2 separate regions of the Homo sapiens genome follow, and region 1 is linked to region 2. Evidence: promoter capture Hi-C in human tissues and cell types (Jung and others, 2019). All regions are on one chromosome and are shown on one strand. Each heading gives the region's core, a stretch centred on a gene start or on the middle of the fragment in contact. The rest is flanking DNA. Distances are from core to core; before and after follow the strand shown. Region 1 overlaps ERN1 (endoplasmic reticulum to nucleus signaling 1). Region 2 holds the start of CSH1 (chorionic somatomammotropin hormone 1).

Evidence for each region. Contacts are between HindIII fragments. The study calls those that stand out against the background at their distance.
Region 1: a fragment that was not itself captured here is called in contact with the fragment with the promoter of CSH1 in region 2 in 1 of the 25 tissues and cell types used here (spleen).

What each region holds. Positions count from the first base shown.
Region 1 is chr17:64,041,991-64,047,754 of GRCh38, forward strand. It overlaps ERN1 (endoplasmic reticulum to nucleus signaling 1), which reads right to left. Exons shown (of 22, transcript NM_001433.5): 20 at 3,369-3,492; 21 at 2,870-2,937; 22 at 1-2,210. The coding sequence ends at 1,998. Among named protein-coding and RNA genes, the nearest start is that of ICAM2, 24 kb to the left of the region's middle. The HindIII fragment of the contact is 3,192 bases long and covers 2,919-5,764 here.
Region 2 is chr17:63,895,070-63,900,720 of GRCh38, forward strand. CSH1 (chorionic somatomammotropin hormone 1) reads right to left here and starts at 1,505. Exons shown (of 5, transcript NM_001317.6): 1 at 1,433-1,505; 2 at 1,006-1,166; 3 at 662-781; 4 at 404-568; 5 at 1-150. The coding sequence starts at 1,442. The HindIII fragment of the contact is 19,326 bases long and covers 45-5,651 here.

The DNA.
Region 1 (5,764 bases), core at 3,265-5,764, 150 kb after region 2:
CTCCCAAAGAGAAAACCTGTGCTGAGAACGAGCTGGGCTGGGGGCACTCCCTGTGGCAGGCCTGTTAAATCACTCGTGGCACCTTCTCCACCTTCTGATCCTCTCTTGGGTTACTGCCAAAGCCCACAGGTAAAGCACCTTGCAGCCGTATGGGGAGCTCTGTCTCAGGCCACCTGGCATGCGGCATGGGAGCAGCAGGAAATGCGGTCTGGCCACGTTTCTGAACAACGCACAGCCTTGCTTAGAAGACGCCAAGGACACCGACCAAGGGCCAAGGTTCCAAGGCCTAAGTGAGGTAATCGATGAGATTTAAGGATGTAGGATCACGTTAATAGTAGGGAAAAAAGTCACTTTAGCTATGATGAAAGGAAGGGAACTGAATTCTACAAAGGCAGAATGAGAGCTTTTGATGAGTAACCATGATACAAATACACAAACAGAAAACATCTTACAACATGAAGAAACAGTGATTTCTCTGTGAGTAAAATTCAACAATCCCATTCTTAATACTGAATGGAATCTCTGAGTTCACCAGGCCTGAGCTGCAATGATCCCCCAACTGGCTGGAGAAAGTACATGGACAACATCTCCTTACACGGTAGGCTGATTGCATTTTAACCTCTAAGGCTCTCGGGAGAGAAAAGACAAAGTTTTGACTGAAACTAAAGCTAAAAATTATGTTAAGTTTAGAAAAAAAAATATGGTACAAACAATTTAGAGACTATTTCTTTGATACTGTTCAATACATTTACATAGTGTTGCTATAATGTTTTACTCTTCAGCATTAGAGAATGTTCTATACATGAACACTCTTGAGGGGATGGTGATTTTTGGTACCACAAAAAATAGAAGATGTATTCTATCTTGCATTTATTCTTCACAAGAAAGCTTCAAGTTTAGCTTACTTATGCTGACATAGCATTCTACAGTATAATCAAAATATAGTTATTAAAATTTGCCAAGAAAAACAAAAAAGCTGGCCCATGAAGCACACGGTGACCCTGGCCTTGGCCACCCACCCTGGCCCTGACTCACCACGAGCCTCTTGTTCCACCGGCCTTGGGGACGAAGGAGTTTGACTGCCTACTCGCTGGCCCAGGGCTTTCTCCTGGTGACCAGGAGGGTCCCATTCGGCGGCCTCCCTCTGGTCCTGAAGGCTGGCCCCTGTCTGGGTCTTCGCTGCTCTCCTTGAAGGCCAGGGAACTCTTTACCTCTTGCCCCAGGCGCTCCTGAGCACCACCCCGAGATGGCCCGGGACACACCCACCAAAGGCCACTGTTCTGGCCACTGGCACTGGGCCACGGCTGCCTCCAGAACAGAGCAGCCTCTTCATTTCTGAGACCTGCAGACACAACCCCACCTGCCAGCATGCATAGCTGACCAGTCCCTAATGCCACACCTCATGCTCATGGCTCCTGCTGCCTCTGCAGAAACACTAGTTAACAGTGACCTGGGCTACTCTGGGCACATCTGTGATCAATGAGAAATCTCACACTGCAGGACGACACCCTCTGAACTCCGTCCTCCCCCTCCTCAGCATCCCCCACCTCTCAATTCCGGTCTCCAGTGAAGGCTGTACTTGGTGCATCTCAGCCTAGCTGTCCCAGCACGCAAGCAAAATGTACGATTCCCTCCTCTCCCTTCCTGAAAGGCCTGTAGACTGACATTAAGCAGGAATTTAAAAAGTCTGAAGCAAGTTTATCCAGTAGATGGCTGGGGGTGCTACTCGCGCTGTCTCTGAGGCCCTCCTTTGCAGACATCATGACCGTAAGGCTTTTGGGGCCAGCATCTTCCCAGTTCCCTGTAGGTCACGAGGGGCCACTTCTCCCACTTCCTGGGGTCAGCACTGTCCTCTGTGGGCTGCAGAGCAGGCAGCTCAAGGCACTTGGTTTGGGAAGCCTGGTCTCCCTGCAAAGCCGGGAGGCATCAAGCTCTAATTGTGGTGACCAGGCCCTCAGTCACAGCTGGGGCCACCAGAACAGAGGGGCCGCCCTCGCTCAGAGGGCGTCTGGAGTCACTGGGGGCTGGGGCTCTGGGGGCTCGTGGAAGTAGTAGGGCTGGAAGAGTCTCTCGTGGCTGCACAGCTCCATGGCCCGGTAGGTGTGTGCGAGGAGGTGGGGGAAGCGAGATGTGAAGTAGCACACGAAGTCGTCGGGGAGGGACCCCAGCGTCTCCCGCACCTCTGCAGGCAGCTCCCGGTAGTGGTGCTTCTGCAAAGAGTTAGAAAGCTCGGGAGATTAGAAAGGGGTTAGAAAGCTCGGGAAATGTTGGCAAAACACCCTTTCATCATGCAAGGAAGAGACAGAATGTGAGTGTTGGTTTTTGGTAAAGAAAAAGAAAAAAGGCTTATGTATCCAAGAATCCAGCCCCGTCATCTCGCCTGCTACCCTCACTCAGGAGGAGGCCTTGAAGTGAGCAAGGCCCAGCCAGTCCAGGGGGTGCTCAGGCCTTCTGTGACAGTCAGGACCTGGAGACACTCCTGGCCACCTCAGGAGGAGTAAAGTCGCCTGAGATTGGAGTGTCCGTCCCAGTGGGGTCCCCGCATTTGAGGTATGTTTATACATGTTTACACACAGTGGCTGCATCAGACAGGGAGAGGGCCCCACAAAAGTCAGCGACCAGAGACCATGAGGGACATGGGCCGCAGAGCACTGCTTCCCGGAGCTTCACCTGCACCTACGTCCCTGAAGGGAAAATCAGCGTAAGAGAGGCAACAGCCTGCAGTTTGCCAAGTCCAGCTGAAGCCGCCTAGCTCCTGAGAGATGAGAATGCCAGTACAGATAAAAGATTTATAAAGAATGGATGAAAGGAGGAAGGTGTCCATGTCATGGCCACTGGGTCTCCTCCCCAGCATTTACAAACTGCTTACCTTATTTCTCATGGCTCGGAGGAGATCTCTGACAGAACCACCTTTATAGGTCCTGAATTTACGCAGGTCTAGAAAAACATTGAGGGAAGCAATGGGTAATCAAATTTAAAACTAATACATTTTAAAAGAAAACAATTCATGGGGTCCTGGGATTAGGGAGTTGGACTGAAAGGTGAGGTCACTCCACACCTAGGCATGGGAGCAGATCCTCCCATCCAACCCAAGGGTGGTATCCCCCTGAACCCCACCTGGTGATCACACCCAGGTCAGAAATGACCACCTAGAGCACGACACCATCACTCACCTGTCACTCTAGGGAACAAAAATGAAACACACATCAGTGTAACCAAACCACAGAGGACACACCCAAGAAAGTCTCAAACCTGACAGGTGGGATGTGGGGCCTGAACAGCCTGGAGCGGCCATTTCCACGTTTACTTTTTGGAAAGGCGGCAGCGACTTTTGCAACCTGCCCTCTCACACGCTGCAGCATGATCACCTGTCTGGAGGGGGACAGTGATGTTCTCCCGCCAGTCCATCTTCACCACGGCTCTCCCGCCTCTCTCTAACTGCTTCACGATCGGGCCATCCAGGGATTCCTTTTCTATTCTGTCGCTCACGTCCTGTGAGAGAAACAAGGGCAGCAGATGATGGTCAGTGCTGGAGATGCTGAGAGCTGTGCGACTGGGACTCAGTAACAGATCATCACTGACACATAAGCCTGCCCCAGAGCTGGGCAGCAGGCACCCTGCCCCCTCCCTCCCTCATCCATGACTTTCCCTGTGAGCTGCTCTGTTCCTCACGAAGCACAGGCCCACAGAGAGCTTCTCCCATGTCAGAGAGGTGTCACAGAGTACACCTGCATATAGACCACGAACGCATACCCTGAATTTCACATGTGCACACACACGCCATGTGTACGGAGCCGCAAGTGCAATCTATATCCAATGAACCAAAACCAAAAAGAAAAGGAAAGCTCAGATTTGATGTGCATCCCGTGCTTTGTCTACTCACTGAAACAGGGTATGCTCAAGCCCATAACTGGTGGAGGGTCGCCACTCTTCCCTCCACCAGTAGAAAAGACCTGTGAAGCTGGGCCTTCTTCTCAAAGAGGAAACTTGGTGGCAAGAGTATGGGCTCCAGAGGCTCCTGTTGGGATTCAAACCTTGCTCTGCATTTGACTTTGGTAATAAGGAGAGGGTCAGGAAGCACCCAAGTATGGCCTCTTGAAGTCCCACCAGTAAGACAGGTCGACAGCTGAGGACACAGGGAGTGGTGAGCCCTGTCTACATCAATGTTAAGTAGCCTTAGGAGACCCTTTTCTCAGAGCAGCCTTTTCTATGATGAAGATGAAGCCAGACTGGCTGAACTCCTAATTTACAATTGTCAGAGAGAAGCTGTGGAGAGGTTAGATTGTCAACTTGGGTACACTGGGAACACACGTGTCTGAGCTGCAAAGCTGTTACGGCTAAATGACCTGAGTGGAAGCCAGGTGTGTTCGAGAGACATATGACCTGGAGATACTAAGCATTTAAATCCTGTCCCTTGGTGGGTGAAGGTCCCTTTGTGTGGGTTTTATTCCTGTTCTATATTTTGCGATCAAAATGACCTGGTTAGTTTTCACAAGTCCCTGGAAGACATATGGACTTGAGAATTTTCACATTATGTCCATGGACACAGTGACCAATCCATATGCTACAACATGGAAGACAGCATTAAACTCTTCCCAACCCGATCCATCTGAATGGTTGGGCCAGGCAGCGTCCTCCCTAGGAGGCAGGGACACAGTAGTGAATGCAGCAGTCAAGCACTCCTGTCCTCGAGGAGCTTACATTCTGGGGGCTTCCCTCTGGCCAAGGCCCCAGTCAGACCCCAGGAGAGCATGATGGTCACTTCTCAGTACGGTGCCCACCAAGCTGCACTCTGCCTGGACCCAAGGGGAAAAGCACTGCCCCACAAGCCTGCTTTCAGAGCCACGTGCTGGGCAGGAGGCGTTCGGGTGAGTTATGTTCAATTCATACATGGAAGACTTTGAAAAACACATTACCTCTTCAAAAGTCACCTGACATTGTCACAAAGCTTTAAAACAGTCAAATCACCAAAGGAGTTCTAACTTTGCAGAACCTATTTTAAGCAAAAGGAGATCTGGGCCAAGACTGTGTAAAAGATGATAGAAACAAATACAATATAAGAAAGCACTGAAATTTATGACACTTGGGCTGGGCCTGGTGGCTCATGCCTGTAATCCCAGCACTTTGGGAGGCTGAGGCGGGCAGATCACCTGAGGTCCGGAGTTCAAGACCAGCCTGGCCAACATGGTGAAACCCCATCTCTACTAAAAATACAAAAAAACTTAGGCAGGCGTGGTGGTGCATATCTGTAATCCCAGCTACTCAGGAAGCTGAGGCAGGAGAATCACTTGAACCCGGGAGGCAGAGGTTGCAGTGAGCCAAGATTGCACCACTGTACTCCAGCCTGGGTAACGGAGTGAAACGCTGTCTCAAAAAAAATAAAAATAAATAAATAAGCTTATGACACTTGAATGAAATTATATGATGCCTGAGATTTACTTCGAAATAACCTGGGGTGGGGAGAGGGTGAAGGTTAATATTTATTGAACCTGAGGGATGAATAAAGGAGTGCTCATTATAGCATTTAAACATTTATGTATTATATATTTGGAAATTCCATAATATAAAGCTTAACCATTATGGCACATCCATATGATAGAATACTATGGTCATTGGAATTTTAGAACTTTAACATGAAAGAAACTTAAAATATCATGTACAGTTAAAAAAAGGGATTCTGAAACTGTATATACGGTTAGATCCCAATTATACTTTTATATATGAAGAAAACATTAAAACATCAGCCATGATTATCTTCCAGTTT
Region 2 (5,651 bases), core at 255-2,754:
GAATGTCTCGACCTTGTCCATGTCCTTCCTGAAGCAGTAGAGCAGCCCGTAGTTCTTGAGCAGTGCGTCATGGTTGTGCGAGTTTGTGTCAAACTTGCTGTAGGTCTGCTTGAGGATCTGCCCAGTCCGGCGGCTGCCGTCTTCCAGCCTCTGCAAAGTGAAGGAAGAGAAGGAGAGGCCAAGCGCTTGGGCACTGTTCCCTCCCTCTCTCATTTATCCATTTTCCTCCCTCCCCTTCAGGGTGTAGAGAAAGGCCTGGAGGATTCACCAGGCGAAATGAAGAATAAGGTGAGTTCTCTTGGGTCAGCGCCTTACTGCTAAAAAGAGGGCAGCAGTATTTCTCTCCCCCAGCCCTCGAAGCCAGTGGGGTTCCAGGATTGGTGACCCCTGGCGCCACCCTCACCCCCATCAGCGTTTGGATGCCTTCCTCTAGGTCCTTTAGGAGGTGATAGTCATCGCTGTCCGAGGTGTCATACACCAGGTTGTTGGCGAACATACTCCTGAGGAACCGCACGGGCTCCAGCCACGACTCGATGAGCAGCAGGGAGATGCGGAGCAGCTCTAGATTCTGCAGGGGAAGGACCGGCAGTGGCTGTGCTGCCCGGGAGCCCTGACCACAGGTCTCCCCCATCCCCGCCTAGGGGAGACGGCATCCACTCACGGATTTCTGTTGCGTTTCCTCCATGTTGGAGGGTGTCGGAATAGAGTCTGAGAAGCAGAAGGAGGTCTGGGAGTCATGCAGGAATGAATACTTCTGGTCCTTTGGGATATAGGTTTCTTCCTAGGAGAAGGACCCCCCACCAAGAAGGACTGCTGGTTTCTATGCTGGAGACCAGCTCCCATTGTTGCTTTTCTGGGAACCTGGCTCAGCCTATGCTCATCTGCCTGCATTTTCGCTTCAGAAAACAACCCTGAGCTCCTTAGTCTCCTCCCATTACTTCCCCAGTGGGGGAAAGTCACCCCTTCTTGCCACCCCTGACCCGCACCCATTCCCCAAGAACTTACAAACTCCTGGTAGGTGTCAATGGCCAGCTGGTGCGCGCGATGGGCTTGGAGCATAGCGTGGTCAAAAAGCCTGGATAAGGGAACGGTTTGGACGGCACCAGCCTCTTGAAGCCAGGGCAGGCAGAGCAGGGCAAAAGCCAGGAGCAGGGACGTCCGGGAGCCTGGGGAGAAACCGGAGGGCAATGGAGGGAGCCGGAGAGGAAGAGGCCAGCGCTCTCCCTGCTCCAGGAGCTGTTTGTTTTTTTTCTCTCTCTCCATCCCTCCAGAGACCAGGAACATTCAGAGATTGGCCAAATATCTGGCCTTAGATGGCGATACTCACATTCATAAGCCCCAAACCTGAGGGTTAGTGCCCCCGTCCCATCTACAGGGCGCTGCCTCTCCCCTCAGGACACGTTGTGCCCAAAGGGATTTTAGGGGCGCTTACCTGGAGCCATTGCCACTAGGTGAGCTGTCCACAGGACCCTGAGTGGTTCGGGGAGTTGGGCCTTGGGATCCTAGAGCCGGTCTCTTGTGGGCCCTTTTTATACCCTGGCCAGTTCTCTCTCCCTGCTTGACCCCACCTGTTTCTGTGTACATTTATGCATGGGGCCACTGACGGGCTTGTGCTAGTGGATAATTTAGAAGCTCCTCCCACACATGCTGGGATCATGCCCCCTGGCTTGTCGTCTTTCCCTTCTCACCATCACCAGTGTTGTAAGGATTGTGCACAGAGTGTCAGCCACAGACTCCACCCAACTTGTCCTCTCTTTAAGGGTCAGGTGGGTGCCCTCTGGCTGCAGGCCATGTTGGTCAACCTGAACGCGGGGAAGGCTGTCAGGATAGCCAGTCCTTGAGACCCCTACCGACCCCATTCCACTCTCTATCCTATTCCTTTCCTCCTCCCCGCGTGTTTAACTTCCACCCACCAGACAGAATGTGTGTGTTGGGAAAAGGGGCCAAGCACAGCCAATAGATTGTGGGGGTTCTGAGCACCATTGAGTCCTGAATTCCACTTTTGCTGATGACTCCTGGGCCCACCTGAGTCAGCTGGATGCAGTGCTAACACTGACCACTAGAGAGAACCAACCCCACACATTGCTCTCCCCTTTCCCTGAACCTTGGGGCGGAGGCGGTGGGGCTCCCCCAGGTCCCTGGGGATGAATAACCCAGACTCAAGGTATTGCCCCAGCTCCTTGGACCTGAAGCAGAGATACAAACCAAGAAACAGAAATCCCGGGAACAGACACGGACCACAAGCGCTTCCTCCCATAGTCCTGAAACCAACAGAGAATCTCAAAGTTGGAAGAGCTCTTGAAGATTTGAGTCTCTTCCCCAGCTTTAAAACTCAGAACACATCACGCCGAAAGAGGCCCTATCCAGCCATGGAAGCCCGTCCTCTTTTGTCTCTTCCTCCTTTCCAGACCTGTGTAGAGCTTATCCAGTTGTCAAAGGCCTGCCTGTGCATTCTCACGTCTGACCTGCAACTTGTCTTGTGTAGGAGGTATGAGTATCATCCCATTTCACAGATCAGGAGACTGAGGCTCAGAGAGACTGATTGCATGAGCTACCTCAGCCAGGGCAGCAGATCTCCACAACCTGGCTCTTCCCACATTGCGTCATTTAAAGTCCTTTCTCCAGGCCGGGCATGGTGGCTCATGCCTGTAATCCCAGCACTTTGGAAGACTGAGGTGGGTGGATCACTTGAGGTCAGGAGTTCAAGGCCAGACTAGCCAACATGGCAAAACTCCATCTCTTAAAAATACAAAAGTAGCTGTGTGTGGTGGCAGAAGCCTGCAATCCCAGTTACTCCGGAGGGTGAGGAGGTAGAATCGCTTGAACCCAGGACTCAGAGGTTGCCGTGAGCCAAGATTGGGCCATGGCACTCCAGCCTGGGCGCCAGAGTGAGACTCCATTTCAACAACCACAACAACGACAACAACAACAACAACAACAACAAAAGTCCTTTCTCCAGAGCAGGTGGTGTGGTGCTACTCAGTTATTTAGTTATTTTAGTTTCCTTTCTTTCTTTCCTTCTTTCTTTCTTTCTTTCTTTCTTTCTTTCTTTCTTTCTTTCTTTCTTTCTTTCTTTCTCTCTCTCTCTCTCTCTCTCTCTCTCTCTTTCTTTCTTTCTTTCTTTCTTTCTCTCTTTGTCTTTCTTTCTTTCTTGTTTTTGATGGAGTCTCATTCTGTCTCTGAGGCTGGAGTGCAGTGGCATGATGTTGCCTCACAGCAACCTCCACCTCCTGGGTTCCAGTGATTCTCCCGCCTCAGCCTCCCTAGTAGCTGGGATTACAGGCGCCCGCCACTATGCCGGGCTAAGTTTTGTACTTTTTAAATAGAGACGGGGTTTCACTATGTTGGCCAGGCTGGTCTCGAGCTCTTGACTTTAGGTGATCCACCCTCCCTGGCCTCCCAAAGTACTGAGATTACTGGCATGAGCCACCGCTCCCAACCCAGTTATTTCAGCTTCTATATCCCTCTGAGTGCAGGGATCCTGCCCCCAACACAAGGGGCCCTTTGCCTGATTTTGTCTTTCCATAAGGGGCAGATTGTTCTTTCTCAATTCTCAGGTGAGAATGGCCCAGTGGCATGGGGTGCCTTGTGGAAACCTCACAGCAGGAAAAGGTGAAGGCAGAGAAGGCCAGGACTGAGCCTCCTGTCTCCTGGTGCCCAGAGTTGGGGCTATTTCAATATAATCTGGAGGTCACAAGCATCAGATGCCCCCAGAGATGGCAGCAGGAAAGAGCACCCTCTCTAGTGGTGAAATCTTCCCCCCGAGTTTAAGAGCATCTAGCACTTGACTCTGTAGAAACACAAGCAAACAAACAGGCAAACGCTTCCAGAAGTGGTTGGCAGTGGTGTTGGCAACCAACATTGAACACCCACACCCCTGTGGCCTAGGATGTGAATGCTGGGGCCCTGCCATCTCCCCACTTTCAGAGCAGAAAACAGAGCTCCTTTTTCTGCCGTCATTCCTGAAGCATTACTGGACTAGCACCCCAGACTCATCATCTGCTGGGAGGGCACTGTGCTGTGAGCTGTTCTCCAGGCAGGCCTGTAGGAGGATCCAAGAGGGGTGTCATCGATGATACCAGCTCTGAGAAATATGGGGTCAAGGGAGGGTGGAGTCACCACTTTCCCCTGCTCCTTCCAGCACCAGCAAAGAGGAGGAGCCAGGTGGGAATGGAAGAGGGTCCCTGAGCTCCAAGTAGAAGAGGGTCCCTGCCTCCCCCACCATCCTTCCTCCAATGTCAGCTGGGACAGGGAGCCCCCATGACAGGGTCTTTTAGCCAGTGCTGGGGACTTAGATGTGGATTTTTGGCCATGGAAGAAGTCTGCAGCCTCCCTTAGGAAAGAGGGTGGCAGGGGCCCTAGTTGGGGACCACTACATAACTCCGCAGGTGGGCACACGGGTGGCGAGGCTCCCCATGCAGGTTACTGCCAGGAACATGTGGGACCTGCCAGGGCAGGGGAGTGTCTCCTCTCACCTCTCCATTTCTGTTGACCGCAGAATTATGGTGACTCAGAGGACTCTAGGAACCCCTGGGGAAACACCTTTGTAAGGGGTTACCATGCCAACCATGGACCAGAGGGAAGAACTGAGGCCCACAGGTGTGGGTAGAAGTCAATGATCATTTTCTCTAGTCTAGATCTTCCCAGAGCCTTGAGCAATGGAGACCATGTCTATCATTCATTGCTGGTAAAAAATCAACTTTGAATTAGACTTGGGATTCCCCTGACAGTACTGGGAAGTCGCTCACTGTTGGGGCATCACTTGAGGCCAGATCCCTGGCTGCTGCAGGCTGAGAGACTACCCAACAAGAGCCTCTATGTGGCCAGTGGGGAGAGGCTGCGCTTTGCACCTCTGGCGTCAGCTTCAAAAGGCTCAGGATAGGCCGGCGTGGTGGCTCATGCCTGTAATCCCAACACTTTGGGAGGCTGAGACATGTGGATCACCTGAAGTCAGGAGTTTGAGACCAGCGTGGCCAACATGGTGAAACTGATCTCTACTAAAAATAGAAAAATTAGCGGGGGTGGTGGCATTTGCCGATAATCCTAGTTACTGGAGCGGCTGAGGCACGAGAATTGCTTGAACCCGGGAGGCAGAGGTTGTCATGAGCCGAGATCACACTACTGCACTCCAGCCAGGGCGAAGAAGTGAGACTGACTTTGTCTCAAAAACAAGCAAACAAACAAAGAAAGAAACAAACAAAACAACGAAAAAACCAAAAAGAAAAGTAGAAAAATCCTCATCTCTGAGTTCACTGTTACCTAGCTCCTTACCCACCGAGAAACAAACATGGGAAGCAGGGGCCCCAGGGCCACCATGGACAGAGCAGCATTATATTTTAGTCCAAATCCATAAGAACACCCTAGGTTTCATCTGGGACTCCCTGCCCATACGGAAAGTGGGAAAGAAGAGTTGGCTCAAAGCAGGGAGCTGCTAGTGCTCCCTTGGGAAGGAAAGCTGTTGGGTGAAGGGGACAGCATTTGGGTGAGGGGAGGAGAGGGAGCAGGGGGTGAAGGTAGGGAGGGAGTGTGGTGCACTGAACTCAGCTCTTTGGGAAACTGTTTTTGCAGACAAGCCATGGTTAGAGGAATCCAGTTGCTCTGCCAAACAGACCTGGCTGGAAGGGATGGAACACACGCTCGCCTGCGTCCCA